Linked DNA regions of Homo sapiens: regions 2, 3, 4 and 5 are each linked to region 1. Evidence: promoter capture Hi-C in 16 types of primary human blood cells and fetal thymus (Javierre and others, 2016). All regions are on one chromosome and are shown on one strand. The core of a region is centred on a gene start or on the middle of the fragment in contact, and the rest is flanking DNA. Distances in the headings are between cores, read along the strand shown. Region 1 holds the start of PSMD7 (proteasome 26S subunit, non-ATPase 7). Region 2 overlaps PDPR (pyruvate dehydrogenase phosphatase regulatory subunit). Region 3 overlaps PDPR (pyruvate dehydrogenase phosphatase regulatory subunit). Region 4 holds the start of COG4 (component of oligomeric golgi complex 4). Region 5 overlaps CMTR2 (cap methyltransferase 2).

Evidence for each region. Contacts are between HindIII fragments. The CHiCAGO score rates a contact against its expected background, and 5 or more counts as called.
Region 2: a contact is called between a fragment that was not itself captured here and the fragment with the promoter of PSMD7 in region 1, in 5 of 17 cell types (total CD4 T cells, naive CD8 T cells, erythroblasts and 2 more). The highest score is 13.0, in total CD4 T cells.
Region 3: a fragment that was not itself captured here is called in contact with the fragment with the promoter of PSMD7 in region 1 in 15 of 17 cell types (naive B cells, naive CD8 T cells, M1 macrophages and 12 more); the score reaches 30.1 in naive B cells.
Region 4: a contact is called between the fragment with the promoter of COG4 here and the fragment with the promoter of PSMD7 in region 1, in 1 of 17 cell types (monocytes). The highest score is 6.4, in monocytes.
Region 5: a fragment that was not itself captured here is called in contact with the fragment with the promoter of PSMD7 in region 1 in 1 of 17 cell types (total CD8 T cells); the score reaches 5.0 in total CD8 T cells.

The regions. Positions count from the first base shown.
Region 1 is chr16:74,295,302-74,298,063 of GRCh38, forward strand. It overlaps PSMD7 (proteasome 26S subunit, non-ATPase 7), which reads left to right and starts at 1,513. Exons shown (of 7, transcript NM_002811.5): 1 at 1,513-1,687. The coding sequence starts at 1,614. RefSeq lists enhancers at 746-1,637, 1,428-1,737, 1,638-2,527. The HindIII fragment of the contact is 3,645 bases long and covers 846-2,762 here.
Region 2 is chr16:70,128,617-70,131,378 of GRCh38, forward strand. PDPR (pyruvate dehydrogenase phosphatase regulatory subunit) reads left to right here. Exons shown (of 19, transcript NM_017990.5): 5 at 168-249; 6 at 343-506; 7 at 1,807-1,928; 8 at 2,686-2,762. Among named protein-coding and RNA genes, the nearest start is that of PDPR, 16 kb to the left of the region's middle. The HindIII fragment of the contact is 3,871 bases long and covers 1-2,762 here.
Region 3 is chr16:70,148,014-70,150,775 of GRCh38, forward strand. It overlaps PDPR (pyruvate dehydrogenase phosphatase regulatory subunit), which reads left to right. Exons shown (of 19, transcript NM_017990.5): 17 at 451-540. Among named protein-coding and RNA genes, the nearest start is that of CLEC18C, 24 kb to the right of the region's middle. The HindIII fragment of the contact is 4,530 bases long and covers 1-2,762 here.
Region 4 is chr16:70,522,110-70,524,871 of GRCh38, forward strand. It overlaps COG4 (component of oligomeric golgi complex 4), which reads right to left and starts at 1,445. Exons shown (of 19, transcript NM_015386.3): 1 at 1,264-1,445. The coding sequence starts at 1,434. SF3B3 (splicing factor 3b subunit 3) reads left to right here and starts at 1,707. Exons shown (of 26, transcript NM_012426.5): 1 at 1,707-1,819. RefSeq lists enhancers at 1,078-1,217, 2,251-2,762. The HindIII fragment of the contact is 1,828 bases long and covers 529-2,356 here.
Region 5 is chr16:71,284,033-71,286,794 of GRCh38, forward strand. CMTR2 (cap methyltransferase 2) reads right to left here. Exons shown (of 3, transcript NM_018348.6): 3 at 1-1,907. The coding sequence starts at 1,888. Among named protein-coding and RNA genes, the nearest start is that of CMTR2, 4.0 kb to the right of the region's middle. The HindIII fragment of the contact is 351 bases long and covers 1,142-1,492 here.

The DNA of each region.
Region 1 (2,762 bases), core at 263-2,762:
GCTCAGAATTTCAGGTCCCATCTCAGACCTACAGAATCAGAATCTGAATTTTAACAAGGTCCCCTGGTGATTTGTAAGCATATCAAAGTTTGAGAAGCATTAATTAAAAGGATTAAATATTTGCGTCTGAACCAGGGCTGGCATATTATAGGCACTCAATAGATTCAATAATTCTTAGTTTTCTTTCCCCATTAACATAACCCTTATATCTTTCTAGTTATAATTAAGAATGAATGGCCAGGCACAGTAGCTCACACCTGTAATCCCAGCAGTTTGGGAGGCTGAGGTGGGAGGATTGCTTGAGGCTGGGGGTTTAAGACCAGCTTGGACAACATAGTGAGACACCAACTGTACCAAAAAAAAAAATGAAAAAATAAAGATAGCATTGAGTCTCTTCAATTAATTATGAATATTAAGCATATCCTGCCATTTACTTCCTTGCAGATCTAGCAGAAAATCTGAAAATAAAGCCAAGTTGCAGACAGAAGACAAAGATAAATTCACATGCAGACAAATTCAAACTCCTGACTACATTAATGTCTCTCATTGGTGGCCAAATTTCAGTCTAATCTTTGCTAATGTTTTTCACCACCCACAAATAAGAGAGACTGAGTGTGTCCCTTGACATTTGGAGATCAGGAAGTCCACCTTAAAAAGACAAGAGGCCAAAATGTTGGGAAAATCCTCTGGTGATAAAGGGAAAGCAAAAATTGTTTAAAAACAGAACAAAATATAAGTAAATAATTCAGGTTGCTTAAGTACTGTTTTCGTTTACAGAAACAGCAACTTCAAATGAGACGATATAAACCTGTATGATTTTTCTTATAATTTGCCTCCTGCAAATAAGCTTAAGTCTTTGTCTACCTTAGTCTTCTCTTTCCTAGCTACATATCACAACATACTTCCTTACTGCCTTCCTTCCGTCTTTTCTTCAACGCTTCTGTAAATTTTGATTTCAAAAGCAACGGCACAATTGCGTTCTTCTAGCCCTAGTTACGCAGTAATATAACGACAGGTGGAAACCTGCAGGTTGCCACGTTCATTGCAAAGTGTCCACAGTAAAGATAAAGGAGAAATTCCCCCGGCAATGAAAACGAGAATGAGATAAATTACCAAATTACATTAAAAGCGTGCTCTTATGTTAGAGATTTAAAGTTCCTCTCAGAAATCGCGGAGGATTTTGACCTGAAGCAAAAGTGAACTTCTTCCGGGTGGTAGAAAAGTAAACTGTCAACTATTTACTTTGGGGGGGTGGCGGGGGGAGGGTGCTGGGAAGGAATTGAGGCGAAAAGCCTCTGCAGGTGACGGTACAGGCCAATACCAGGAGGTCAAGTCGCCGGTGTCCCTTCGGCCCTTAAGTCCAGGGAAACGCACGGCGAGGGACGAGGGGCGATTCCCGCCTTTCTCCAGCCCTTTCTCCGCCCACAAATGACGGCGGTGGCGAAGATCCGGGCCCGCCGCGCGAGGCACTCTGGGAGCGGAAGAAGGAGGCCGCGCGAGGGCTGACGAACCGGAAGAAGAGGAACTGGGCCTGAAAGGGTACCGGTGACCGCTACTGCTGCCGGTGTTTGCGTGTGGCAGGGAGCCAGGCCTGGCGAGCGGGGTGTGTCGCGATGCCGGAGCTGGCAGTGCAGAAGGTGGTGGTCCACCCCCTGGTGCTGCTCAGTGTGGTGGATCATTTCAACCGGTGAGCGAGCGCCCTATAGCTGGGCCGGCGGCGCAGCCGCTGCTGAGTCACGGGCACGCTGGAGATGGCGCGGCGGCCGCGGACGAGCTGGGGACGCAGATAGGGCGGCTGGTGACCCTTACTTGTTCACGAGTCCAGACCAGCGTCGGCTCACGATGCCGGAGTCATCCAGCCTCCCGCCCCTGCCCCAGCCGCCGCCACTTCGGGGCCTTGGCTGCCTGTTCCGTTTAGCCTGTTTGTTTTACAGAGTTCCCTTTCCGAGTTCGTTTTGCCGAAGTTCGTTTTACCGAAATCTGGATGATGCTGGGGGTCGGGAGATGCGGCTAGCTTTAGTTGGCCCTGACCCCCGCCCCCAAGCTCGTGTCTGTCACTTCGTTTTGAAGTTCGTTTTGCCGAAATCTGGATAAAGCCAGGGTGGGGCGGAGGCGGGCTAGCTTCATTTGGCTCTGACCCCCGACCCCAGGGTCGTATCTTCATTTGACTCAGTTGATTTCACTGAAATGTGAATAATGCAAAGTGACTGATGTCTGGATGATGCTTGGGTGGGGCGGAGTGGGCTAGCTCCATTTAGCCCCGCCCCAAGGCTATGTTTATCTTCGTTTGACCGAATTGGTTTCACCGAAATATGGATGATGCTGGAGTGGGGTGCAGGGTGGCTACCTTCATTTGGCCCTGACCCCGGCCCCAGGGTCGTATTTATGTTTATCCTCGTTTAACCAAGTTGATTTCACCGAAATGTGAATGATGCAAAGTGAATGATGCCTGGATGATGCCGGAGTGGGGCTAAGGGGGCTAGCTTCAATTTGGCCCTGACCCCCGCCCCCAGGGTCGTATCTATGTTTGTCTTCATTTGACCGAGTTCCTGTTATCGAAATCTGGATGATGCTCAGCACCCCGAAGGGCTTCCTGGATCAGCTGTGGTTTTAACCCATTAACATTTTTAAATGGGAATCTGATTAGACTCCGTCTCAAAAAAAAAAATGTATATATAGATGAGGTTTCAGTTTTTATTTAAAACACGAGGCCGAGCATGGTGGCTCACGCCTGTAATCCCAGCATTTTGGGAGGCTGAGAC
Region 2 (2,762 bases), core at 103-2,602, 4.2 Mb before region 1:
TAAAATTTTGCATAGAAGCTCAGAGAAGCTGATTTACCTGCCCAAGGATATTGAGTGGCAGTCCCAGGATTCATCACAGGTCTTCTAACCTATAATCTAGTGGATTTTCCACTCTCCTGTCCTACATTTGGTCTGATCTGTCTCATTTGGGCTCATTTTTCTTACAGGTTACACAAGGACAGGCTCAATCTTTCTGGCCCAAACTCAGGACCGACTGATCTCCCTGAAGCGCATCAACGCAGGGCTGAAGTACGTAAGAGTCTAGAAGCGTGTCCTGACTTTACCACACTGGCCTCTGCCAAAGAGCCTGTGAATGTCATTGTCCCTTGTGTTCTGTGGCAGTGTTATAGGTATCCCTTCTGAGATCATCTCCCCCAAGAAAGTGGCCGAGCTTCACCATCTCCTCAACGTGCACGACCTGGTGGGGGCCATGCATGTTCCCGAGGATGCAGTGGTGTCTTCCGCTGACGTGGCTCTTGCCCTGGCAAGTGCTGCCTCCCAAAATGGTGAGCAGGTTTTTGCATTTTCTTAAGATAGGTTAGCAGGGAAGACATTACCTAAGGAAGTGTCTCACAATAGGAAGTGACACCAACTCAAGTTTGGAAAGATTATCCTCTTTGGGGTACTCAGCCTCCATTTTGAACACTTATAATTTTATTTATCTGTTAATGAGTGTTTTCCCTCAGGGCCACATTTTTAAAGTTCTAAAGAACTGCTTTTAGTGCTAATTAATGCCCCTTTTTTGGAGACAGAGCTTCACTCTTTTCGCCCAGGCTGGAGTGCAATGGCACAATCTTGGCTCACTGCAACCTTCGCCTCCTGGGTTCATGTGATCCTCCTGCTTCAGCCTCCCGAGTAGGTGGGACTACAGGCGTGCCCCACTACACCCGGCTAATTTTTTTGTGTATTTTTAGTAGAGACGGGGTTTCGCCATATTGGCCAGGCTGGTCTTGAACTCCTGACCTCAGATGATCCACCTGCCTCGGCCTCCCTAAGTGCTGGGATTACAGGCGTGAGCCACTGTGCCCTGCCAATTAATGCCCTTTGGACTTAAGGTAATATTTTCCGCCACAGGACTTGAGAAGCTCAAGGTGAAAACACACCTTGGAAGTTTAATCCACACCTGAAATCATGAGCCCAGTTGCATTGAATGAGGGGAAGACTTAACTAGCGTCCAGGGTATCATATCCATGGTATGAGCAGGTTAGCACTTAAGGCGCACTATTTACATCCTCTCCTCTCTGCTCCATAGTTTATGATTCCAGGAATTTAATTATTGTGTTCCAAAGTCTGTTTTTAAACTGAGTTGCTATTTTCAATCTTGAACAAGGCCCATTTACATAGTCTCAGGATGTGATTCTAGGGTTTTGTGTTTTTTTTAAATGAAAGCATTGAGCCGGGCGTGGTGTCTCATGCCTGTAATCCCAGCACTTTGGGAGGCCAAGGCAGGCGGATCACCTGAGGCCAGGAGTTCAAGACCAGGCTGACCAACATGGTAAAACCCCATCTCTATTAAAAATACTAAAATTAGCCGGGCATGGTGGTGCATGCCTGTAATCCCAGCTACTTGAGAGGCTGAGGCAGGAGAATTGCTTGAACCCAGGAGGCAGAGAGCGAGCCAAGATCGCACGACTACACTCCACCCTTGGCGACAAAGCAAGACTCCATCTCAAAAATAAAATAAAAAAATAAATTAAAGCATTGACTTGACTTTGTCAGTGTTTCTTCTGGGTGGAGAACCTGCTGCACATGCCTTCATTCTGGAACATCAGATGAAACACCAACTCTTTCTTTACCTTGGAACAGGTGTTCAGATCTATGACCGGACATCTGTTCTTCATGTAATGGTCAAAAAAGGTCAAGTTACTGGAGTGGAGACCGATAAAGGACAGATTGAATGCCAGTATTTTGTCAACTGTGCTGGCCAGGTAGGTCAGCACCAACACTGCTGTTCTTATTTAACGTTTGTCTCCAAGATTTTTTTGGTGTAGAGAAGTAAGATTAGTATTGTGATTGGTTATACAGATATCAGTAACTACGCTGTTTCTTGTAGGGTATTCTAAATCAGAAACCTACACTTAGTCTGCAAATAGAAGCCTGTGTGACCTTGTCCTTCCTCCACACTGGGTTGATGGGTGCTATCCTGGTCAGGAAGGCCAGCAAATGGTCAGGCATTGACGTGAATCCTTGGCACTGGGTCTTGATGTTACATTTCATTCTATAACCTAGCAAATAACATATTAGGCTATTTTATTGTGTCAGGAATGTGGACACTAATTTCCAGGACACTGCTTCTTTTAAAGCAGATTGGCTCTTGCCTTCCATGCTATGATCCCGAAGTGAACTAAGAAATACTTTTGCCATGTGAAGTTCATTTAGTGATTGCTATTTGGGGTTTGTAGCTGAGCCCAGGCGTTTTATCAAAAGGACCTCCTTTGGTTCCCATGAGCTCCTTTGACTAGCTGGTAAATATCTCTTCCTTTGATCTCAAAGTAATTTTTATGTCTTAAAAAATGTAGTATTGCTCCCCATCCAAATAATTGAACTAAAGCAGGCTGACTTCCCACACCTGACACTGTAGCAAGAGCACACATAAGCCACTTGGAATTAATCTCAAGAGGCTGAACTTGCTCATTTTTATTTCTGTTCCTCTTCCCACCCACAAATCAACCTGTCCATTTGTAGTGGGCATACGAGCTGGGTCTGTCCAACGAGGAGCCGGTTAGTATCCCGCTACATGCCTGCGAACACTTCTACCTCCT
Region 3 (2,762 bases), core at 263-2,762, 4.1 Mb before region 1:
ATCTTTGACCCCAGGATAGCAGATTAATTATGTCTGTGGGCATCGGGCATCATCTTTTGTATGGCAGGCGGCCAGGGTTTGTCTGCTGATTCCCCCAGAGAAGACACTCGCCTTGTCCTCATTGTGCCTGCTACCCTCGACTAACACAAGGACCTGGCAAAGAGGAATATTTTGTGCTTGTCAAGGACTTTCCTCCACTCTCTACCATCAGCTTGGCTAAAACTCCTGAGATGGTAACAGTAGCAAGCAGAGATGTCACATAGGCAGTGCTCCATTCTCTGTGCCTCAGGACCTGGAAGTTAACCACTTTCGGGATGAAATTCTTGCCTTGACGTCTGTCTCCCTCAACAGTAAACAGAGGGTGCAGCACTAATGAAAGGTTTCCCCAGGCGTCCCTCCCTTGACAAGTAATGTGAGTGCCCAGGCTGACTGCTGCCTTTGTCCCTGCAGGAGATGAGTGTGGGCTATGCAAATGGGATCCGGGTGATGAGCATGACGCACACAGGAGAGCCAGGATTCATGCTCTACATCCCCATAGAGGTGAGAGGGCACCCTTCCCTTCCCTTCCCTTCACTTCCCTTCCCTTCCCTTCCCTTCCCTTCCCACAACCACTGTGGGGTGCCAGTGCTCCCAGCAGCGCGTTCACCAGCACTGGCAGGTTTGGAGAGCTGTATCTGATTGGGCCTTGGGAGCTGAGGTAGGCTGCATTGAAGAGATTTGACCATTTTTAACTAAGTTATATAAGTTTTTTTGAATAGGTGATACATTTAAAAAGTATTTGGCGCCGTCTGATCTGTTCTCACCAACTGTCACCAATAATATTAGTATTACTTTTATATGTCATTTCAGATTTGTATGCATATTGCAAGCAAATTCATAATTAATTTTTTTTTTTTTTTGAGACAGGGTCTCACTCTTTTGCCCAGGGTGGAGTGCAATGGCATGACCGTGGCTCACTGCAGCCTCGACCTCTTGGGCTCAAGCCACCCTCCCACCTCCGCCTCCCGAGTAGCTGGGACTGTAGGCATGTGCCACCATGCCTGGCTAATTTTTGTATTTTTTTGTAGAGACAGGTTTTGCCATGTCGCTCAAGCTGGTCTCAAACTCCTGACCTCAGGTGATACACCCACCTTGTCCTCCCAAAGTGCTGGGATTATAGGTGTGAGCCACCATACCCAGCCAAGCCCCCTTTTTAAAAACAGAAATGGAAGCATACTGCTATTCTTCATCCTGTTTTTTTTTTTTTCACTTCACAATTTTTTTTTTAATTGAGGCAGAGTCTCACTCTGTCACCTAGGGTGGAATGTAGTGGCATAATCTCAGTTCACTGCAACCTTCGCCTCCCAGGTTCAAGTGATTGTCCTGCTTCAGCCTCCCGAGTAGCTGGGATTACAGGTGCACGCCACCACGCCTGGCTAATTTTTGTATTTTTAGTACAGACGGGGCTTCACCATGTTGCCCAGGCTTGTTTCCAACTCCTGACCTCAAGTGGTCCACACACCTCAGCCTCCCAAAGTGCTGGGATTACAGGCATGAGCTACCATGCCCGGCCTCACTTCACAATTTCTCTTAGAGCTCTTTCTTTGTTGGTACCTAAAGCAAAAGAGCTTCCTTGTTCTTTTTTTCTTTATTTTTTAACAGTGGCGTAGCATTCCATTGTGGTACATCATTCCGATACTAATAGACATTTATGTTATTTCTAGTCTTTTGCTGTTATAAAAAGGTCTGCAGGCTGAGTTCAGTCTAATCATATGCAAATAGTAATAGTTTCTTCCTTCTCCAGAACCTTTTTTTTGAGACGGAGTCTCACTCTGTCGCCCAGGCTGGAGTGCAGTGGCGCAATCTCGGCTCACTGCAAGCTCCGCCTCCCGGGTTCACGCCATTCTCCTGCCTCAGCCTCCTGAGTAGCTGGGACTACAGGCGCCTGCCACCACGCCCGGCTAATTTTTTGTATTTTTCATAGAGACGGGGTTTCACCGGGTTAACCAGAATGGTCTCGATCTCCTACCTCGTGATCTGCCAGCCTTGGCCTCCCAAAGTGCTGGGATTAGAAGCGTGAGCCACCGCACCCGGCCGGCTTTTTTTTTTTTTTTTCTTTTTTTTTTTTGAGATGAAGTCTCACACTTGTCCCCCAGGCTGGAGTGCGATGACATGATCTAGGCTCACCGCAACCTCTGCCTCCCGGGTTCAAGTGATTCTCCTGCCTCAGCCTCCCGAGTAGCTGGGATTACAGGCGCCTGCCACCACACCCGACTAATTTTTGTATTTTTAGTAGAGACAGGATTTCACCATGTTGGCCAGCTTGGTCTCGAACTCCTGACCTTAGGTGATCCACCCACCTCGGCCTCCCAAAGTGCTGGAATTACAGGCGTGAGCCACCGCACCCGGGCCCATAGTCTTTCTTCCTATAATTTCCTTCCTTTGTTCTATTGTGACAGGTAGCAATCAATGATTGTAGGCATGCTTGTTTTCTTCTTGATGTTAGTCATACTACTTGTAGTGATAGGTTTTCTCTTAATTTTTTTTTTTTTTGTGAGACAGGGCATTGCTCTGTCACCCAGGCTGGCTTACTGCAGCTTGACCTCCGAGGCTGAAGTGATCCCCCTGCCTCAGCCTCCTGAATAGCTGGGACTACAAGCATGTGCCAACATCCCCAGCTAATTTTTTAATTTTATTTTTGTAGAGGCAGGGTCTTGCTATGTTGCCTAGGCTGGTCTCAGACTCCTGGACTCTAGTGATCCTCTCACGTCAGCCTCCCAAAG
Region 4 (2,762 bases), core at 195-2,694, 3.8 Mb before region 1:
GCCTCAGCCTCCCGAGTAGCTGGGATTACAGGCATGCGTCACCACACCCGGCTAGTTTTGTATTTTTAGTAGTGATGGTTTTCACCATTTTGGTCATGCTGGTCTCGAACTCCTGACTCAGGTGATCCTCCCGTCTTGGCCTCCCAAAGTGCTGGGATGGCAGGCGTGAGCCACCGCGCCCCGCAAGATACTAAATTTTAAAACACATCTTGCTGAGGCCAGACAAAAAAAGCCCCACACACTAAACTAGCCAGGCACGGTGGTGTGCGCCTCTGGTTTCATCCATTCTGATTGCAGCACAACAGCACTCCAGCCTGCGCAACAGAGAGCGGCCCTGTTTCTAAAAATAACAAAACAAAACAAAAAACACCACACACATCTTGCTGAAAAACGTATCAGAAACTGCTAGAGTTAGTGCAAGTTTATACTTGAAAATACTCAAAGATATCAACGATCACCTCTCCCTCAGGCTGAAACTGCCTTTTGTGCTCAACTTTGCTAGAAGTTTGGTCTGGGAAACAGCTGACAAGCTTAGAGCTTAGATCTCTTTTGACTAGCAAGGAACCCAACTGACATTCGAAAGTGAATTGACAGCATCGAGTTGCCACTGAAAATTAAAGGAGGCAGGAAATAGAACGTTATGAACTGAAAGGAATTGGAGAATAGTCCACACCCCTCATTTGATAAAATATCAAGGGTACCAGAGATGAAGTGACTTGTCCAAGATTAGAGAATTGTGTCTGAGTCTTAAAAGCTAAACCTCTACAAAGATGTGCATTTGACCAAAACGCTAAAATCACACCCCCAAATCACTCCCCACAAGAGGAAGTCTTAAAACGCTTCAAGAAGTTAATCTGCAAAGGCTTCCCTCTTAAATAACAGGATGAGAGCGTTTCATAATTTGTAAATTAAGCCAATGCAAAAGGGCGCTTATTATTTTGAGAACCAAGCAATTTGGCAAATACTCTCAGACTAACTTTACTCCCGTGGAGAAACTGGTGATCATGGATCAGGGAAATCAACGGGGGTCTAGGGAGGAGAGGCTGCAGATCGCCCAGGTATCAGGGAAGACAAGCTCGGCGCGTCCGACAGCGTGAAAAGAGTTGACAGGACTACTCATATACCCGACTAGCTTCCGCTTCTTTGTTTTCCCGCTTTTTTGTATCCCCCAGCAAGGAGAGTTTCCCACAGCCCGGATTTCCCGACTGAAGGCTCCCACTCTCCCTAGATCCTCCATGAAAAAGAAGAGGCTCGACCCCGCACCTCCTCGCCGCAGAGCCGTTCGTATACAGCCTCCAGCTCCTGCAGCTCTGTCAGGGAGCGAATGAGCTCAGCGGAGATTTCGGAGCAGCGGCCACCTCCCACCCCCTCAGACGGCTGCTGCACCCCTGACAGCTTCGGAGGCGAATCAAGGTCCGCCATCTTGGTCCCCATTCGGCACTTCCGGTCCCGCGAGGCCCCCTCTTCGTTGGCGCCTATTTGGGGCTGCCCACAGAAGTGCCCAATGAACTCTAATGGTTTTTTTTTTTTAAAGTCTACTTCTAAAAACGTATTAATTTTCTATTCTCCTGGAAAAAGCAAAGCAATAAAGCATGTTTAAATAATTTGTAATGCCGTGTGGAAGCAAGACGGAAGCATTTTTTAAAAATTATATATATTCTTCAGGCGCGGATTGGGTGCCTTTTTCCGCCGCGCGCCACCAGAATGTCCCTGTCTTGAGGTCTAATGGCGGACGCCAGTATGTTGGAGTTGGTGGTGGCTTAAGTTTTGAAGGGAGGTAGCATCCGTTGGATATCCACACCATCCTTCTCGCTGCAGGGTAAAAAAACAGCCTGGAGACTTCCCCGGGCCCGGGGAGGCGGAGACCGGCCATATGGAAGGGGGACCCGAGACTTTGGCGGGGGTCACGGGCAGTCTAGGCCCGAGAGGCTGGGGACCAGGAGGAGGTACCGAGGGATGGTTGAGGCGCCAAAACGGCTTCCTGCAGTTATCTCTCGCTTCCATCCACAGTGTGGGAACATATTCTATCTCAAAATAGGGCTCGTGGAGATTGCTTTTAACTTCTGGGGACTCTGAGACGGGGGAGGTGTGACAAGCAGCGGGAGGCATGGATGTCTCCCTCTGGGTAGAGTAAATGGTACACCGAGGGGAAGATAGAAAGATGGAGCGTGTTAAAAGCGTAAATAACGGAAACAGTCTTTAGAGCCAAGACTCCGGTTTGAATTTGTATTTTGGTAGTTGGGCAACTTGTCTCCTCCTCTGAACCTCTATTTTCTCGTTTGCGTAATGGAGGACAGAGTTTAAATGCGATGATGTTTCCTTGGAGGATGGAGAAGATGCAGTGAGCAATCATACAAGCTTTTTGTAATAATGGTAAACAGACGTGGGGGAAGTTTTTTTTGTTTTGTTTTGTTTTGTTTTTGTGACGGAGTCACAGTCTGTCGCCCAGACTGGAGAGCAGTGGCGCGATCTCGGCTCACTGCCATCTCTGCCTCCCGGGTTCCAGCGATTCTCTTACCTCAGCCTCCCGAGTAGACTAGCTGGGATTACGGGCGCGTGCCACCACGCCCGGCTAATTTTTCTTTTTTTGAGACGGTGTCTCGCTTTGTCGCCCAGGCTGGAGTGCAGTGGCGCGATCTCTGCTCACTGCAAGCTCCGCTTTCCGGGTTCACGCCATTCTCCTGCCTCAGCCTCACGAGTAGCTGGAACTACAGGCGCCCGCCACCGCGCCCAGCTAATTTTTTGTATTTTTAGTAGAGACG
Region 5 (2,762 bases), core at 67-2,566, 3.0 Mb before region 1:
GGCAGTCCAAAAATAAACGCTGGTAAGTTGGATCTCCATCATGAAGCAATGAACAGCTAAAAGTTGTGAGTTCAGCTGATTCTAGGAGTCGAACTTCCAACGGTATATGCATTTTGATATTACGGAGAGTCGAAAAGCCCACCAGCAGGCACTTTATTTGATTGCTGGGTACTACAACCTGCTCATCCTGAAGGCACTCAGTAAGGCTACACAACTCGGAAAATATCAGTTCTTCAGAAAAAACATGACAAGAACAAGAATACTGCTGTTTTGGCCTAAACTTGGAATCCAAATTAAAAGCTCCTCCTAATGACTTTTCAATTGCTTCATTAAGAGTTTTTAAAATTTCACCATTGCAAAAAGGAGAACATTTTACCTTTGGCAGTTTCTTTCCCTCCAAAATATGCCATAAGTGACACTCAAGATTGGAAGCTGTTCCTTCTAAAATAGAACTCTGCCCAGGATGATATACACCATGTTCTTCAGCCCAACTATTAAAGTATCCTTTGGCTACTTTATCTTTCCATGAAAGGGCTTCTAGCATCTTCCTTTCATTATAAGTTTTAAAATATTTGTTCCTCTGCCCAAACCATTTTGTATTTGTACTACAACCAATACTAGATTTTTTTACTAGCCAATTATTTCTGGAAAGATGTTTCAGTTGAAATTTTTGCATAAAATATTGTATAGCACAATCCCTTAAATTATTCAGCTTTTCTTGTTCCGCCTTTCCCATGCACTCAAATAGACGAATGTTTTCAGAAATAGTCTCTAGCTGATATTTATGAAAGAACACACAACATTCTTCATGTCTCTTAAGAAAAGAATCAGGAATCACATGATGGGGAAAAAGGGCTTTCCTTTTCATTTCAGTCCCAAAATTCAAGGTCATCTTAGATAACAGAGGATGGATGGCCTCTCTCCCCTTATAGTGGAGGCAAACCACATAGACTTCGGAGTTTCCTGCCTTGCTAGTAGCAGGTTTGAAAACATGGACTTGGTCAAAACAACAGTTTAGCAGGTACATCAAGTTTATGGAACAATGTTCAAACATAGTAAACATCTTTAGAACAAAAGAGCCACCGTTTCCAAGAGTGGTCAGAGCAGTGACAACTTCACAGTAATGCAAAGAAGAAACTAAAGCTTCTTGTTCACCTGGGTTTCCTTGGCAATCAAAACTCCCATCTGCAGTGACCAAGTGAACAGTAGCCATGCTGCTTATGAAATTCTGAAGTCCAGTCAAGAATTTCAGGGTCATGATATCACCAGTGTTATCTGGACCAAAGTACCACCAGTGCAAGGTATTTGCAATAAGCCGGTCATCCATAATCATCATGAGGTCGTCATTTGCTTCATGGTATGGATTCAGAGTATTCGCTACCCAACTCCAATGACAAGGAAACCGATGGGATTTTAAGTAGTGGTTGAGACTAGCTATAAAAGCTCCTGGAGCTTCACAAAGGTGTAGAGAATTCAGTTTTCCATTCTGAAAAGCTTCCTGTGGAATAAGTGGAAAGCTGCACAAAATCTCATGGAACTTACACCATGCTTGAGTACAAAGTTCAGCATTCACAGATTTTCTAACATGAGAAATGATTTTCCCCGCTTTATTAGTGAAAGCAGTGTGCTCATGCCACTCATCCAGTTTCTTATCACTCAGTAGGTTTTTTACTTCATTTAGGGAGTTCTTCAAATCAAGAAATGCATTAAGTTCAGTGTGGTCACAGGTGAAAATCTCACTGGGATCTGGTAACTGCCACTCATTATTAAGTGGCTTGCCATAAGAAAAGTTCTTGGCAAAGAGTTCAAAAATGTCAGCAAGAATATCTGGGCTGAATGACGCGGGACTTGCTAGCTGCTGAACTGGTGTCTTTCTGCACTTACTCATTTTCAAATCAAATTAAAATCTAGGAAGAGAAAACACATAATTAAATGAATCAAATTTATTAGTGAGCGAAATCTCATGAGCAGCAAATACGATCACACTCATGACAAACTCCATAAAATGGGAAGGCTAAAGTCAGCATACTCTGTTATTTAACCAAGTAATCTGGAATAATGAAAAAGGCTTTGATATCCAAGACCTGGGTTCAAATTCCAGCTCTGCTAATTATGGCTTAATAAGCACCCTTGGGCAAATTCCATCTCTTGGATTTGGTTTCTTCTCATTAAAAAAAAAAGCCTATCATTTTTTAAGAAGAAGATAAAACATACTAGCATATAAAAAACATATAACAAAGCATAATCATCAGTGAATGACAGCTCTGATTATCATAGTAACCCATCTAACTCTTCCCCAAAGTTCTTCCCTACCAATGACTGTGACAACACCTACATGACCTCAAACAAATCCATCCTTAGAGATTCATCCCTGGACATGACCTTTGTTCAAGCTCTAACATGTGACTTTTCGTTTTTTTTTTTTTTAGTTCCCGTCATACTTTACCTCCTTCAGGGAGAGGATCATGTACCTGAACCCAGTACTGATCCTGCCACAAGCCACTTACCTCACTAGTAGGATTGTTGAATACATCCTCTGTCCAGATTTCATTCTCTAAGACAGGCACTTTGGTGGTACCAATCACCTATACAGGTCATCAACTAACGTTCATCATCATACTGCTTGTAAACTGTGCTGTACTTGAGTGGTTAGCCTTTTTCTGCTTGATGCTGAAAGTGACCAACTGTTTACCCGGTATGTCTCAAACTATAGATTCCTGGCTTTCATATGGTTCAGACAGCTCCACACTTCCACCATAACA